Regions from separate parts of the Homo sapiens genome. Here region 1 is linked to region 2. The links are contacts of gene promoters, found by promoter capture Hi-C in blood cells and fetal thymus (Javierre and others, 2016). All regions are on one chromosome and are shown on one strand. The core of a region is centred on a gene start or on the middle of the fragment in contact, and the rest is flanking DNA. Distances in the headings are between cores, read along the strand shown. Region 1 holds the start of TRIM63 (tripartite motif containing 63). Region 2 holds the start of CNKSR1 (connector enhancer of kinase suppressor of Ras 1).

The links. Contacts are between HindIII fragments. The CHiCAGO score rates a contact against its expected background, and 5 or more counts as called.
Region 1: a contact is called between the fragment with the promoter of TRIM63 here and the fragment with the promoter of CNKSR1 in region 2, in 10 of 17 cell types (neutrophils, fetal thymus, naive CD8 T cells and 7 more). The highest score is 9.3, in neutrophils.

The regions. Positions count from the first base shown.
Region 1 is chr1:26,065,227-26,070,857 of GRCh38, reverse strand. TRIM63 (tripartite motif containing 63) reads left to right here and starts at 3,228. Exons shown (of 9, transcript NM_032588.4): 1 at 3,228-3,522; 2 at 4,418-4,590. The coding sequence starts at 3,364. The HindIII fragment of the contact is 10,936 bases long and covers 203-5,631 here.
Region 2 is chr1:26,174,559-26,180,425 of GRCh38, reverse strand. It overlaps CNKSR1 (connector enhancer of kinase suppressor of Ras 1), which reads right to left and starts at 2,935. Exons shown (of 21, transcript NM_006314.3): 1 at 2,827-2,935. The coding sequence starts at 2,878. The HindIII fragment of the contact is 21,071 bases long and covers 1-5,867 here.

The DNA.
Region 1 (5,631 bases), core at 1,979-4,478, 110 kb after region 2:
ACGTCTTAAGTAGTCAAGAGACAGGCAGCTCTAGGGTTGGATAAATTGGCAACAAAATGATGGCATCTCTAACCCAGGTGCCTCCTATGGTTCCTCTATGCTATCCTCAGGGTGTTGACATCATCCTCAGCCTTGTCCCCTTGTGGTTGCAAGATAGCTGCTCTACCCTCTCACAGCCCCATTCAAAGGTATGGACAAAGCTTTCTTCTTGCACATTCATTTTTATTGTGGAGGAAATCCTTTATCTTTAGCCAACAGACATATCCTTGGGTCTCATTGACCATAACTGCATCATTAGGCAAAAGAGAATGGGGTTGTATGATAGGCTTAAACTGTGTGTGACTCATCTCCTGAGGCAGTGGAGAGGGCCATCTTCCTGGAGCACAATGCTGCCAATGCCTGAACTAAACTGAGGTCCCATGAGCAAGGAAGAAGAAGTGGCCTTTTTTCAGTCAGTGTTGACTTGACCTAAACACAGTTCAATAGAGTCTACATGAGGAGCTTGGGTTCCTAAGTCAAGCATATTTGGGTTCATGTCCTAGAGCCACCTCGTGCTATCGGTGGGACCTCATACAAGTTATTTTACCTGTGTGCCTGAGTTTCCTCACTTGTGGAATGGGGATATTATGGGTCTTTTGTTATTGGCTATTGAGATGGTAAAATGAAATAATGCATACAAAGCATTTAGCACAATGCATAGCACATAGTAAGTGCTCAGCAAAACCTAAGTGCTCAGCAAAATTTTGGGGGGACAACTCTCTCCTCGAAATCCTCCAGCCCTTTGTTTTTAAGGCCTCTTCTTTTTTCTGTAACTTGTCCCTCTTCTTCTCCCATTTCCTCTCTTCCAAGGTTTGCTTCTCTGCTCTATGTCTTGTCTCATTGCTCCCATCATTCCTCTTTCCTGAAATCCTTCATACTCCTCCTGAGTATTCCACAGCCTCTTAGGCTCATCTTGGGCCCTGATACCACTGCTCCATATCTCTGCCCCATCGCCTTGGACCAGATGACCCCACAGTCCTTTCATTAGATGCTACCTTAAAAACAGCTACTGGAGGCCAGGTACAGTGGCTCACGCCTGTAATCCCAGCACTTTGGGAGGTCGAGGCAGGTGGATTGCCTGAGGTCAGGAGTTCGAGACCAGCCTGGCTAACATGGTGAAAACCTGTCTCTATTAAAAATACAAAAATTAGTCGGGTGTCATGACACATGCCTGTAGTCCCAGCTACTCAGGAGGCTGAGGCAGGAGATTCACTTCAACCTGGGAGGCGGAGGTTGCAGTGAGCTGAGATGGCGCCACTGCACTCCAGCCTCTGGGCAACACAGTGAAACTACATCTCGGGAAAAAAAAAAAAAAAAACCAGCCACTGGAACTGCTCTAATGACTTCTACTTGCCAACGTGGAAGATGTCCTAAAATACATGGAGAAAAGTTAAAATGTGTGCAGCGAGCTGAGGGACGCCTTCTAAGTGTCCAGGCAGGGCTTTGTGGCACCGCATGAGGGGTTTCCCTTTCTTTCTTTCTTTTTTCTTTTTCTTTTTTTTTTTTTTTTGGAGACAGAGTCTCACTCTATCACCGGGCTGGAGTGCGGTGGTGCAATCTCGACTCACCGCAACCTCCTCTTCCTGGGTTCAAACGATTCTCCTGCCTCAGCCTACTGAGTAGCTGGGATTATAGGCACCTGCCATCATACCCAGCTAATTTTTGTATTTTTAGTAGAGACAGGGTTTCACCATGTTGGCCAGGATGGTCTCCATCTCCTGACCTCGTGGTCTGCCCACCTCGACCTCCTAAAGTGCTGGGTTTACAGGCGTGAGTCACTGTGCCCTCTGGGTTTTTCCTTTCTATCTCCCTTCCTGGGCTGTGAGTTTCTTGGGGCAGGGAAACAGATCACTCATCCATCTGTCACGTTGTGATGTATACTAGTTACCTGATGTATACTAGTACTCAGAAAAATGTCTGATGAATGAATAAAATTTCTGTCTTTGCCACTTATTTTCTTTCTTTTTTGTTTTGTTTTGTTTTGTTTGGAGATGGCGTTTCACTCTTGTCACCCAGGCTGGAGTGCAGTGGCGCGATCTCAGCTCACTGCAACCTCCACCTCCTGGGTTCAAGTGATTCTCCTGCTTCAGCCTCCTGAGTAGCTGGGATTACAGGCGCGTACCACCACACCCAGCTAAGTTTTGTGTTTTTAGTAGAGACAGGGTTTTACCATGTTGGCCAGGCTAGTCTCGAACTCCTGACCTCAAGTGATCCACCTGCCTCAGCCTTCCAAAGTGCTGGGATTACAGGTGTGAGACACCACGCCCGGCTGCCACTTACTTTCCAACTGACTTTGAATATAATCCTTTTCTTCTCTAGTCCCATTTCAAAATCTGTAAGATGAGGGGACTGGACTGTGTTTCAAAGGAGGCTTTTCAGCACTAAGTGAAATAAGTGGCCGAGGGATGGAGGATGGGCTGGTTGGAGTGGGGGTCTCCATCATCTCCAGCAAAATGCTGTGCTGAAGTCTGAGGCAGAGGGATGGGCTCAGAGAGAGGGGCTGCCCGACCCTTCCATCTAGGAGCTGCCCAGGACTCCAGAGGAGGGGATGGAATTGATTTAGGTCAGTGAGGGGTTGCGTGGGGCTGGGAGGGGGTTGAGGTTGGGAGGCTGAAGGAGGAGACTCCCTTCAACCTGGGAGGTGGAGGTTGCAGTGAGCAGAGATCGTGCCACTGCACAATCCTTTCTATCTCCCTTCCTGGGCTGTGAGTTTCTCGGGGCAGGGAAACAGATCACTCATCCATCTGTCACGTTGTGATGTATACTAGTTGCCTGATGTATATACTAGTACTCAGAAAAATGTCTGATGAATGAATAAAATTCATTCATCGAACATTTTCATCATAGCATTGGCTATTAACCCCTTGAATCCCCGTGGCTCACTTGCTGGGTCCCATCCCTGACCCACTAGCCTGGTGCCGGGGGGAGACCAATTTCTGGAGGAAGCTCTGGGTACCCAGTCTTGCCCTAAGCCTGCCTCTGAACAGGCTGTTCTTGTTTATGACCCCCGTCCCAGCAGAATAGTGATTGCTCATCCCTGCATGTGATTTGAGAGGGCCAGTCTTTCAGGCCTGGAGGAAACTCAAGCCCCACCAGCCGCTTGGCATCGGAATGCTCAGCTGGTCCCCTCCTGGGGCTCATGTGACCAAGATCTAGCTATAAATATCAGAGGGGCCTCAGACCAAGACAGAATTCGGGCACCAGGAGAAGGAAGCCAACAGGATCCGACCCGGTGTTTTGTGACAAAGGCAAGACCCCCAGGTCTACTTAGAGCAAAGTTAGTAGAGGAGGCAGCTAGGCGTGGCTCTCATTCCTTCCCACAGAATGGATTATAAGTCGAGCCTGATCCAGGATGGGAATCCCATGGAGAACTTGGAGAAGCAGCTGATCTGCCCTATCTGCCTGGAGATGTTTACCAAGCCAGTGGTCATCTTGCCGTGCCAGCACAACCTGTGCCGGAAGTGTGCCAATGACATCTTCCAGGTAAGTGCCGGGTGCAGCTTCATTTGGGGTCCCCAGGTGGCTACTTGGCTTCCCTGTGATGAAACCCTTCTCCCTTAGACTTCCAACCTGGACAGCCTCTTTCCCCTTGGAAGTGAACCCCTGCAGAGGCCTCTGGACAGGGCTGAGAGGGGGCTGGGAGGCGGCTCTGGCTGCTGCGGTTCTTCTCCATAACACAAGTTTCCCCTCCCTGCCCTGCCCACAGCTCCCCCACCCCTGCCCTGAGCACTGCTGTTGACTCTCCAATCAAGAGTCAAATGCCTCAAGTGATAAGCGGGGTAGGCAGGGACAGGAGAGAGAAACCAGACCCCTGGGGCTGGAGCCAGGTCCTGGTGGCAAGAGGCCCAGAGCTTTGGGAGGAGGGTGTCAGGGAGGCAGTGGGCAGTAGAGGCATCTTCCCTTTTGAGGCTGTTCCCTATGATATGGGGGCAGAAGGGGCTCCAACTCCCCGAGAAAGGAAGGGGGTAGATGTCCTGGCTGGGAGGCAGGATGCGAGGTTCCCCATGGACACTTTACAAAATGTTCTTTCACGATATTATCTTTAAAGTAGCAGCCTTAGGAGCTTGCTCTCATTGTAATACCTATTTCATAAGTGGGCAAACTGAGGCCTACACAGATAAGGTTGCTTGCCCAAAATCACTCAGAGAATAAACATGACTTGAACCCAGGTCTCCTGCCTCCCCATCCTGACGATTGCTTAGCTGCTTCTCAGGTGCTCTGTGTGTGAGGACTGGTTCTCATCACAGTCTGCAGAGCTCCAGGTTGTTAGGTTTGACGGGGGTGGTTCGGATAGGCAGAGGAAAGGATAAGAGGAGATTAGAAAAGAGAAGGGCTAAGTAGGGAGCCCAGGCCTCACCTTGACCTTTGCCACCTGCAGGCTGCAAATCCCTACTGGACCAGCCGGGGCAGCTCAGTGTCCATGTCTGGAGGCCGTTTCCGCTGCCCCACCTGCCGCCACGAGGTGATCATGGATCGTCACGGAGTGTACGGCCTGCAGAGGAACCTGCTGGTGGAGAACATCATCGACATCTACAAACAGGAGTGCTCCAGGTCGGTTCTCGTGCCTGCTGGGGGCCCGCCCTCCTTCCCAGCCATGCTGTGCCTAGATCCCCCACGCTCCTTCCCCCTCCTTCATCTGCTCAGGATCCAGGCCTCTAGCTGGACTAGCTACACAAGCCATTCAGAGACAGGACTGGAGACCCATACACCCCAACCCAGCTCTCAGGATTGCTCAGCGGATGGGAAGGGGCCCAGACATTAGGCTGCCCTTCCAGGCAATACCAAGACAGAGACTGGGGGAAAGATGAGATGTGAGAGGGAGAGAAAGGCCCTGGGGCCAGCTAAGTGGCTCTGGTCAGCAGAGAAAATGCCCGGTGAGAAACAGCCAGGTTGTCTATAAGGATAGCAACAGCTACTCTCCCGTGTGCCATGAGGAACAGCGTCAGGCACTGGGAATGCTTCATCTAAGTACCTCCCAATAACTCTGTGAATCAGGCATGACTTTATTATCCTCATTTCACAGATGAGGAAACTGAGGCTCAAGAAGTGAAATCAATTAGCTAAGGTTTCCCAGCTGGGAAGTGAAAGAGCTGGGAGTTGACCCAGTCAATCTAGCTCTGAGTCTTCCTGCTAATAAAATAGCAGCTCATTCATAGGCAGAATGTGTGAGTGGTGGAGGTTGTGAAGGGTTGGCCTCAAACTGGGGAGAGAGGGCCAGGCATGGTGGCTCATGCCCATAATCCCAACACTCTGGGAGGCCAAGGTGGGATGATTGTTTGAGGCCAGGAGTTCAAGACAAGTCAGGGCAACATAGTGAGACCCTGTTTCTACAAAGTTTAAAAACTAGCTGGGCGTGGTGGGGCATGCCTGTAGTCCCAGCTCTTCAGGAGAATTGTTGAGCCAGGGAGGTCAAGGCTGCAGAGCCATGATTGTGCTACTGCACTCCAGCCTGGGTGACAGTGAGACCATGCCTCAAACAGACAAAAACACTGAGAGGCCGGGTGCGGTGGCCCACACCTGTAATCCCAGCACTTTGGGAGGCCAAGGTGTGTGGATCATTCGAGGTCAGGAGTTGGAGACCAGACTGGCCAA
Region 2 (5,867 bases), core at 1,686-4,185:
GGAAGCAGAGGTGTCAGGACCTTTTGGGATGGTTCTTCATGCCTGCAAAGCTCTTTTCCCTCTAGTCTAACCCTAATGACAACTCTGACACCCAGGCTGTTCTGCCCATTTCACAGATGAGGCCACTGAGTTGAGAAGCAGGAAAGTATAGGACATGGGTTCTTAAAAGTGGCCCCCAGACCAGCAGCAGCAGACTCACCGGAGAACTTGTTAGAAATGCAAATTATCAGGCCTCACCCCACACCTGCTGAATCAGAAACTCTGAGGTTGGGGCCCAGCAGTCTTTTTTTTGTTTTTGTTTTGTTTTTTCTTTTTGAGACAGGGGCTTGAGACACAGTCACGGCTCACTGCAGCCTTGACCTCCTAGGCTCAATCCATCCTCCCACCTCAGCCTCCCAAGTAGCTGGGACTACAGGCACACACCACCACACCCAGCTAATTTTTGTATTTTTTGCAGAGGTGGGATTTCACCATGTTGCCCAGGCTAGTCTCGAACTCCTGGGCTCAAGCAATTTGACTGCCTCAGTCTCTGAAAGTGCTAGAATTACAGGTGTGAGCCACGACGCCCAGCCAGCAGTTTGTATTTTAATGCAGGTGACTGTGATGCTCCCTTAAGTTTGAGAACTAATGATACAGGGGATAAGAACAAGAGGCTATGGAGTCACTGAGACACTGTGAACACTTGAGCAAGTAATAGCACTGCTCTGTGCCCAGTTTTCTCACCTGTAATGTGAGAATAATAAAAGTACCTACCTTCTAATCATGTGTGTATTGAATGACACAACATATGTCAAGGCCTTGGCCACTGTCTGGTTCGTGGGAGACAGCCAATAATAGCCATCATATTATTATTGCCAGACTTTACCATGACCTACAGGCCCTGTATGATTAGGCTACTACCTCCCTTTCCAGCATCATATCCTGAAGAGCCCCCTAAACTCAACATTTCAGATGCACAGAGCTAATTCCTTGCAGCTCCTGGAACACCCTTTTACCTCAGCGTCCTTGCAAGTGCTATTCCTCCTGCTGGCGTTGCTCTTCTATCTCCTTCACTTCCTTTTTCATCTAACTTCCTCCAGGAAGCCTTCCATAACTTCCCAGGCTGAGTGGGATGGAGGGCTCTCCTCTTGTTCCCACTGCCCCTGAGCCTCCACAAACCCCTGCACTTGACCATCGGTCTTTCCCATTTTATCACAGGCTCTTCAAAGATCAGGCCTTAGATAACCATTTGTCTCTAACCCCCGGCCTGTGCCTGGACAAGGTAGGCACTGAAAAATAAGAAAAGTGTCTATTGAGGGCTTACTATGTGCTATGCAAATCTATAAGAGCTTTACACATATTAACACATTTGATTCTCACTGCATTTCTAGGAGGTAAAGACTATCATTATCCTGCTTACAGATGGGAAAACTGACACAGAGGTTAAGTAGCTTGCTCACTCTTCGAAGGAATTCTTCCCCTTCTAAGCCAGGCTCCTTCACTGGGGGAGGTGTGTGTGTGTGTTCCCTGTGTCACATTGAGAGCACTGGACTGGGAGTTCATGAACCTATCACTCCCTGGCTATGGGCCCCTGAGCCACCTCCTTCCTGCACGGTGACTGTATTGGGCTGGTGCCCTCCCAATAGACCCAGGCATTGAGCTACAAATGAACTATGTCATGATTGTCTCACTTTGTCGACTTCATAAGGTCAGAGTTGCCTTTCCCATTTGATGGACAGAAAAACTAAGACCTATGGTCACAGAGCTGGCAAGCGGTGGGGGTGGGCCTGGAATCCAGCCTGGGAGTCTGAACCCAGCCCTGAATTCCTGCCCTTACCCGGGCTGGTCCTCCTGAGCCTGTCTCTAGTGCGCTCCAGCTCCCCACTCTGGGAGGGGTGTCCTGACTGCCTGCTCCTGGTCGCACTGTGTGTCAGGAGGCCCTTCCTTCTCTGAGTCTGCCTGTGGGGTGTGTTGCTTCCCATCTGTGTGGGCTCGCTGAGCCTGGACAGCACCTTGCCCCTTGGATAGGAGCCCCAGGGTGGGGCTGTGTCAACCTCTTCAGTCTGGCCTAGGGCTTCTGCTTCTGTCACTAGGAGCTCAGGGTGTGGAGCGGGGAAAATGACACCAGAGACTGAGCAAATCATTTCCTGGCTCTGTGTGTCAGTTTCTGACTCTAAGAAACGGATTTAACAACAGCCCACTGGCCCTGGGGCCAGGGAAGATGAAGGAGATACAGTGGGTGTGGGCCTGTCAGGCCTCCCTCCTGTTTTCATGACACCGCCTCCCCATTATCACCCTAGAGGCCTCTTGGGCTACTGCCATGATGAGGGGCCCCCTTCTGGGTCCTTGGGCCCCCCAGGGTCATCTCATCTGTCTCTCTGCCCAGCACGGTTCCTGGAACATGTTAGGTGCTCTGTAAATATTTGTTGACTGACTGACCGACTGATAGAGCCCGCAGTTTATTATTTTTTTTTTTCTTTTGAGCTGAATCTCGCTCTGTCGTCCAGACTGGAGTGCAGCGGTGCAATCTCGGCTCACTGTAACCTCTGCCTCCTGGGTTCAAGCGATTCTCCTGCCTCAGCCTCCCAAGTAGCTGGGATTACAGGCACCTGCCACCACCCCCAGATAATTTTTGTATTTTTAGTAGAGACGGGGTTTCACCATGCTGGTCTTGAACTCCCGACCTCAGGTGACCCACCCACCTTGGCTTCCCAAAGTGCTGGGATTACAGGTGTGAACCAGCGCACCCAGTCCGCAGATTTTTTTTCCTTTTCCTCTCCTCCCGCTTCCCGGTGGGACACCACACCTAGTCCCCTTCAAGCCCAACTCTACCCCAGCCCCACCCACCTCTCAGCCAAGTTGCCACCTTTCCGGGGGTCCAGGTCTCTACCGGTTCCATGGCCCAGCTCTGCCAGCTCGAATCAGCTCCTGTTTTGCCCTGCTGTCGCCGGAATTTCCGCTCCCAGAGCCCAGGCCTAAGGAGGGGCCGGGCTGGGTCCTGGGCGGAGCCTACTGCATACCTGGGCTCACACAGACGGCAAGATGAGGCACTGCGACAGCCATTGGCCCACGCCCGTCCGCCTCCTGCCCGGCCCTTCAGACATCCTAGGGCTCTGGCATCTCGCGCCTGCTAGGGGGCAGTGCCACTGGCCTCATATCGCGGGGTGGGACCCTGACCCTTGGGCTCCTCAAGAAAAAGCCACAAGAGGAGCGCTGAAATCAGTAGCAAAGCACAGAGGCTAGGGGGCCAGGTCCCTGGGTGCCTAGGCCAGCTCTTGTTAGCTGTGTGACCTGGGGCTGACCCTAACTTCTGCGCCTCAGTTTCTGGGTCTGTAAAAGAGATATAATAGACCGTACTTCAAAGGGCAGCTGTGCACAGTATCTGAATGGCTTGAAAACATTTAGAACTGGGGTGTTTAGCCTCCCTTGGATTTTGCAGTATGGACTCTGGCATCTGGTGAGGCCTGTGAATGCTTTCTCAGAATAGCTGCTTATAAAGGCATAAAACAGGCCGGGCGCGGTGGCTCACGCCTGTAATCCCAGCACTTTGGGAGGCCGAGGTGGGCGGATCACTTGAGATCAGGAGTTCAAGACCAGCCTGGCCAATATGGTGAAACACCATCTCTACTAAAAATACAAAAAATTAGCTGGGCGTAGTGGGTGCTTGTAATCCCAGCTACTCAGGAGGCTGAGGCAGGAGAATCCCTTGAACCCAGGAGGGGGAGGTTCCAGTGAGCCAAGATCGTGCCACTGCACTCCAGCCTGGGCAACAGAGCAAAACTCTGTATTATAAATAAATAAATAAATGCACAAAACAAAATGCTTAGGATTACAATGAGAACAATTATCAAAACTATATTTAAAAACAAATTTGGCCGGGCATGGTGGTTCACGCCTGTAATTCCAGCACTTTGGAAGGCCAAGGCGGGTGGATCATGAGGTTAAGAGATGGAAACCAGCCTGCCCAACATGGTGAAACCCCGTCTCTACTAAAAATACAAAAATTAGCTGGGTGTGGTGGTGCACGCCTGTAGTCACAGCTACTCAGGAGGCTGAGGCAGGAGAATCGCTTGAACCTGGGAGGCGGAGGTTGCAGTGAGCTGAGATCACGCCTCTGCACTCCAGCCTGGCAACAAAGCAAGACTCCGTCTCAAAAAAAAAACCCACAAAAAACAAAAAAAAAATTTGGAGCTGGGGAGTGCTGGCACACGACTGTAGTCCCAGCTACTCGAGAGGTTGAGAGGTTGAGCGGGGGAGTATCACTCAAGCCCAGGAGTCAAAGCCACCCTGGGCAACATAGCAGGAGCCCATCTCAAAAAAATAAAACCAGAAATTTATATTATGTGTTTACTAACATTAATAAGACTGGCCGAAAGTTAAATTTTTCTTTTTTAATGACCTCAGTGTGTTGTCGACCAGCTTGAATAAGGACATTAAACTGTGGGGTGGTCTTTGACGCCCCTCCTCTTACATATTGATCAGCAAACAACTAAAAACAGGGAATGCTGGGCCGGGCATGGTGGCTCACGCCTATAATCGAGACGGGCGGATTATGAGGTCAGGAGATCGAGACCATCCTGGCTAACATGGTGAAACCCCGTCTCTACTAAAAATACAAAAAATTAGCCAGGCATGGTGGCGGGCGCCTGTAGTCCCAGCTACTCAGGAGGCTGAGGCAGGAGAATGGCGTGAACCCAGGAGGCAGAGCTTGCAGTGAGCCGAGTTCGCGCCACTGCACTCTAGCCTGGGCGACAGAGCAAGACTTCGTCTCAAAAAAAAAAAAAAAAAGACAGGGAATGCAGAAGAGTGGAGAAGCCCTACTCAGAACAGGCAGATTCGCCCTTTGGTCACTGAACCACTGCTAAGCCTGGAGGTAACCAATTAATGGCGGCTACATCACAGGAGCATCTGAAACAGAAGTTGCTCACGAACAATTTAGTGGTGGTTTAACAACCACTGTGATTTTGAAATCACTTGAGCATAAATATTTTGAGATACTTGCAATAACTACAATTTGATATGAAAATATGTGATTTCTATTGGTGACTAAGCCAAAGATACTGCTACTGCTTCAATCCATATAGAAGGAAATCATAAATTTTGGTTAGAGTTTAGCAAAAATAAAAATATAATTTTTTCCCATCCAAGTTTATGGATCCCCTGAATTCTGAACCTCAGAGCAAGAGCTTTAATCTTAGAAAAATATCTGACACATAGTAAATGTTCATTTTCATCATCATCATCAGGTCAGGGGACTCCCAGGACTTTAGAATCAGATAAAATCAGCCGGGCGTGGTGGCTCAGGCCTGTAATCCCAGCACTTCAGGAGACCTATGCGGGCGGATCACCTGAGGTCAGGAGTTCGAGACCAGCCTGACCAACATGGAGCAACCCCATCTCTACTAAAAATACAAAATTAGCCGGGTGTGGTGGCACATGCCTGTAATCCCAGGTACTCGGGAGGCTGAGGCAGGAGAATTGCTTGAACTCATGAGGTAGAGGTAGCGGTGAGCTGAGATCGCGTCATTGCACTCCAGCCTGGGCAACAAAAGTGAAACTCCACCTCAAAAAAAAAAAGGCCGGGCGCGGTGGCTCATGCCTGTAATCCCAGCACTTTGGGAGGCCAAGGCGGGTGGATCATCTGAGGTCAGGAGTTCGAGATCAGCCTGGCCAACATAGAGAAGCCCTGTCTGTACTAAAAATCCAAAAAATTAGCCGGTCGTGGTGGCGGGCGCCTATAATCCCAGCAACTCGGAAGGCTGAGACAGGAGAATTGCTTGAACCCGGAAGCAGAGGTTGCAGTGAGCCGAGATTGCGCCACTGCACTCCAACCTGGGCAACAAGAGCAAAACTCTGTCTCAAAAAAAAAAAAAATCAGATAAAATCAG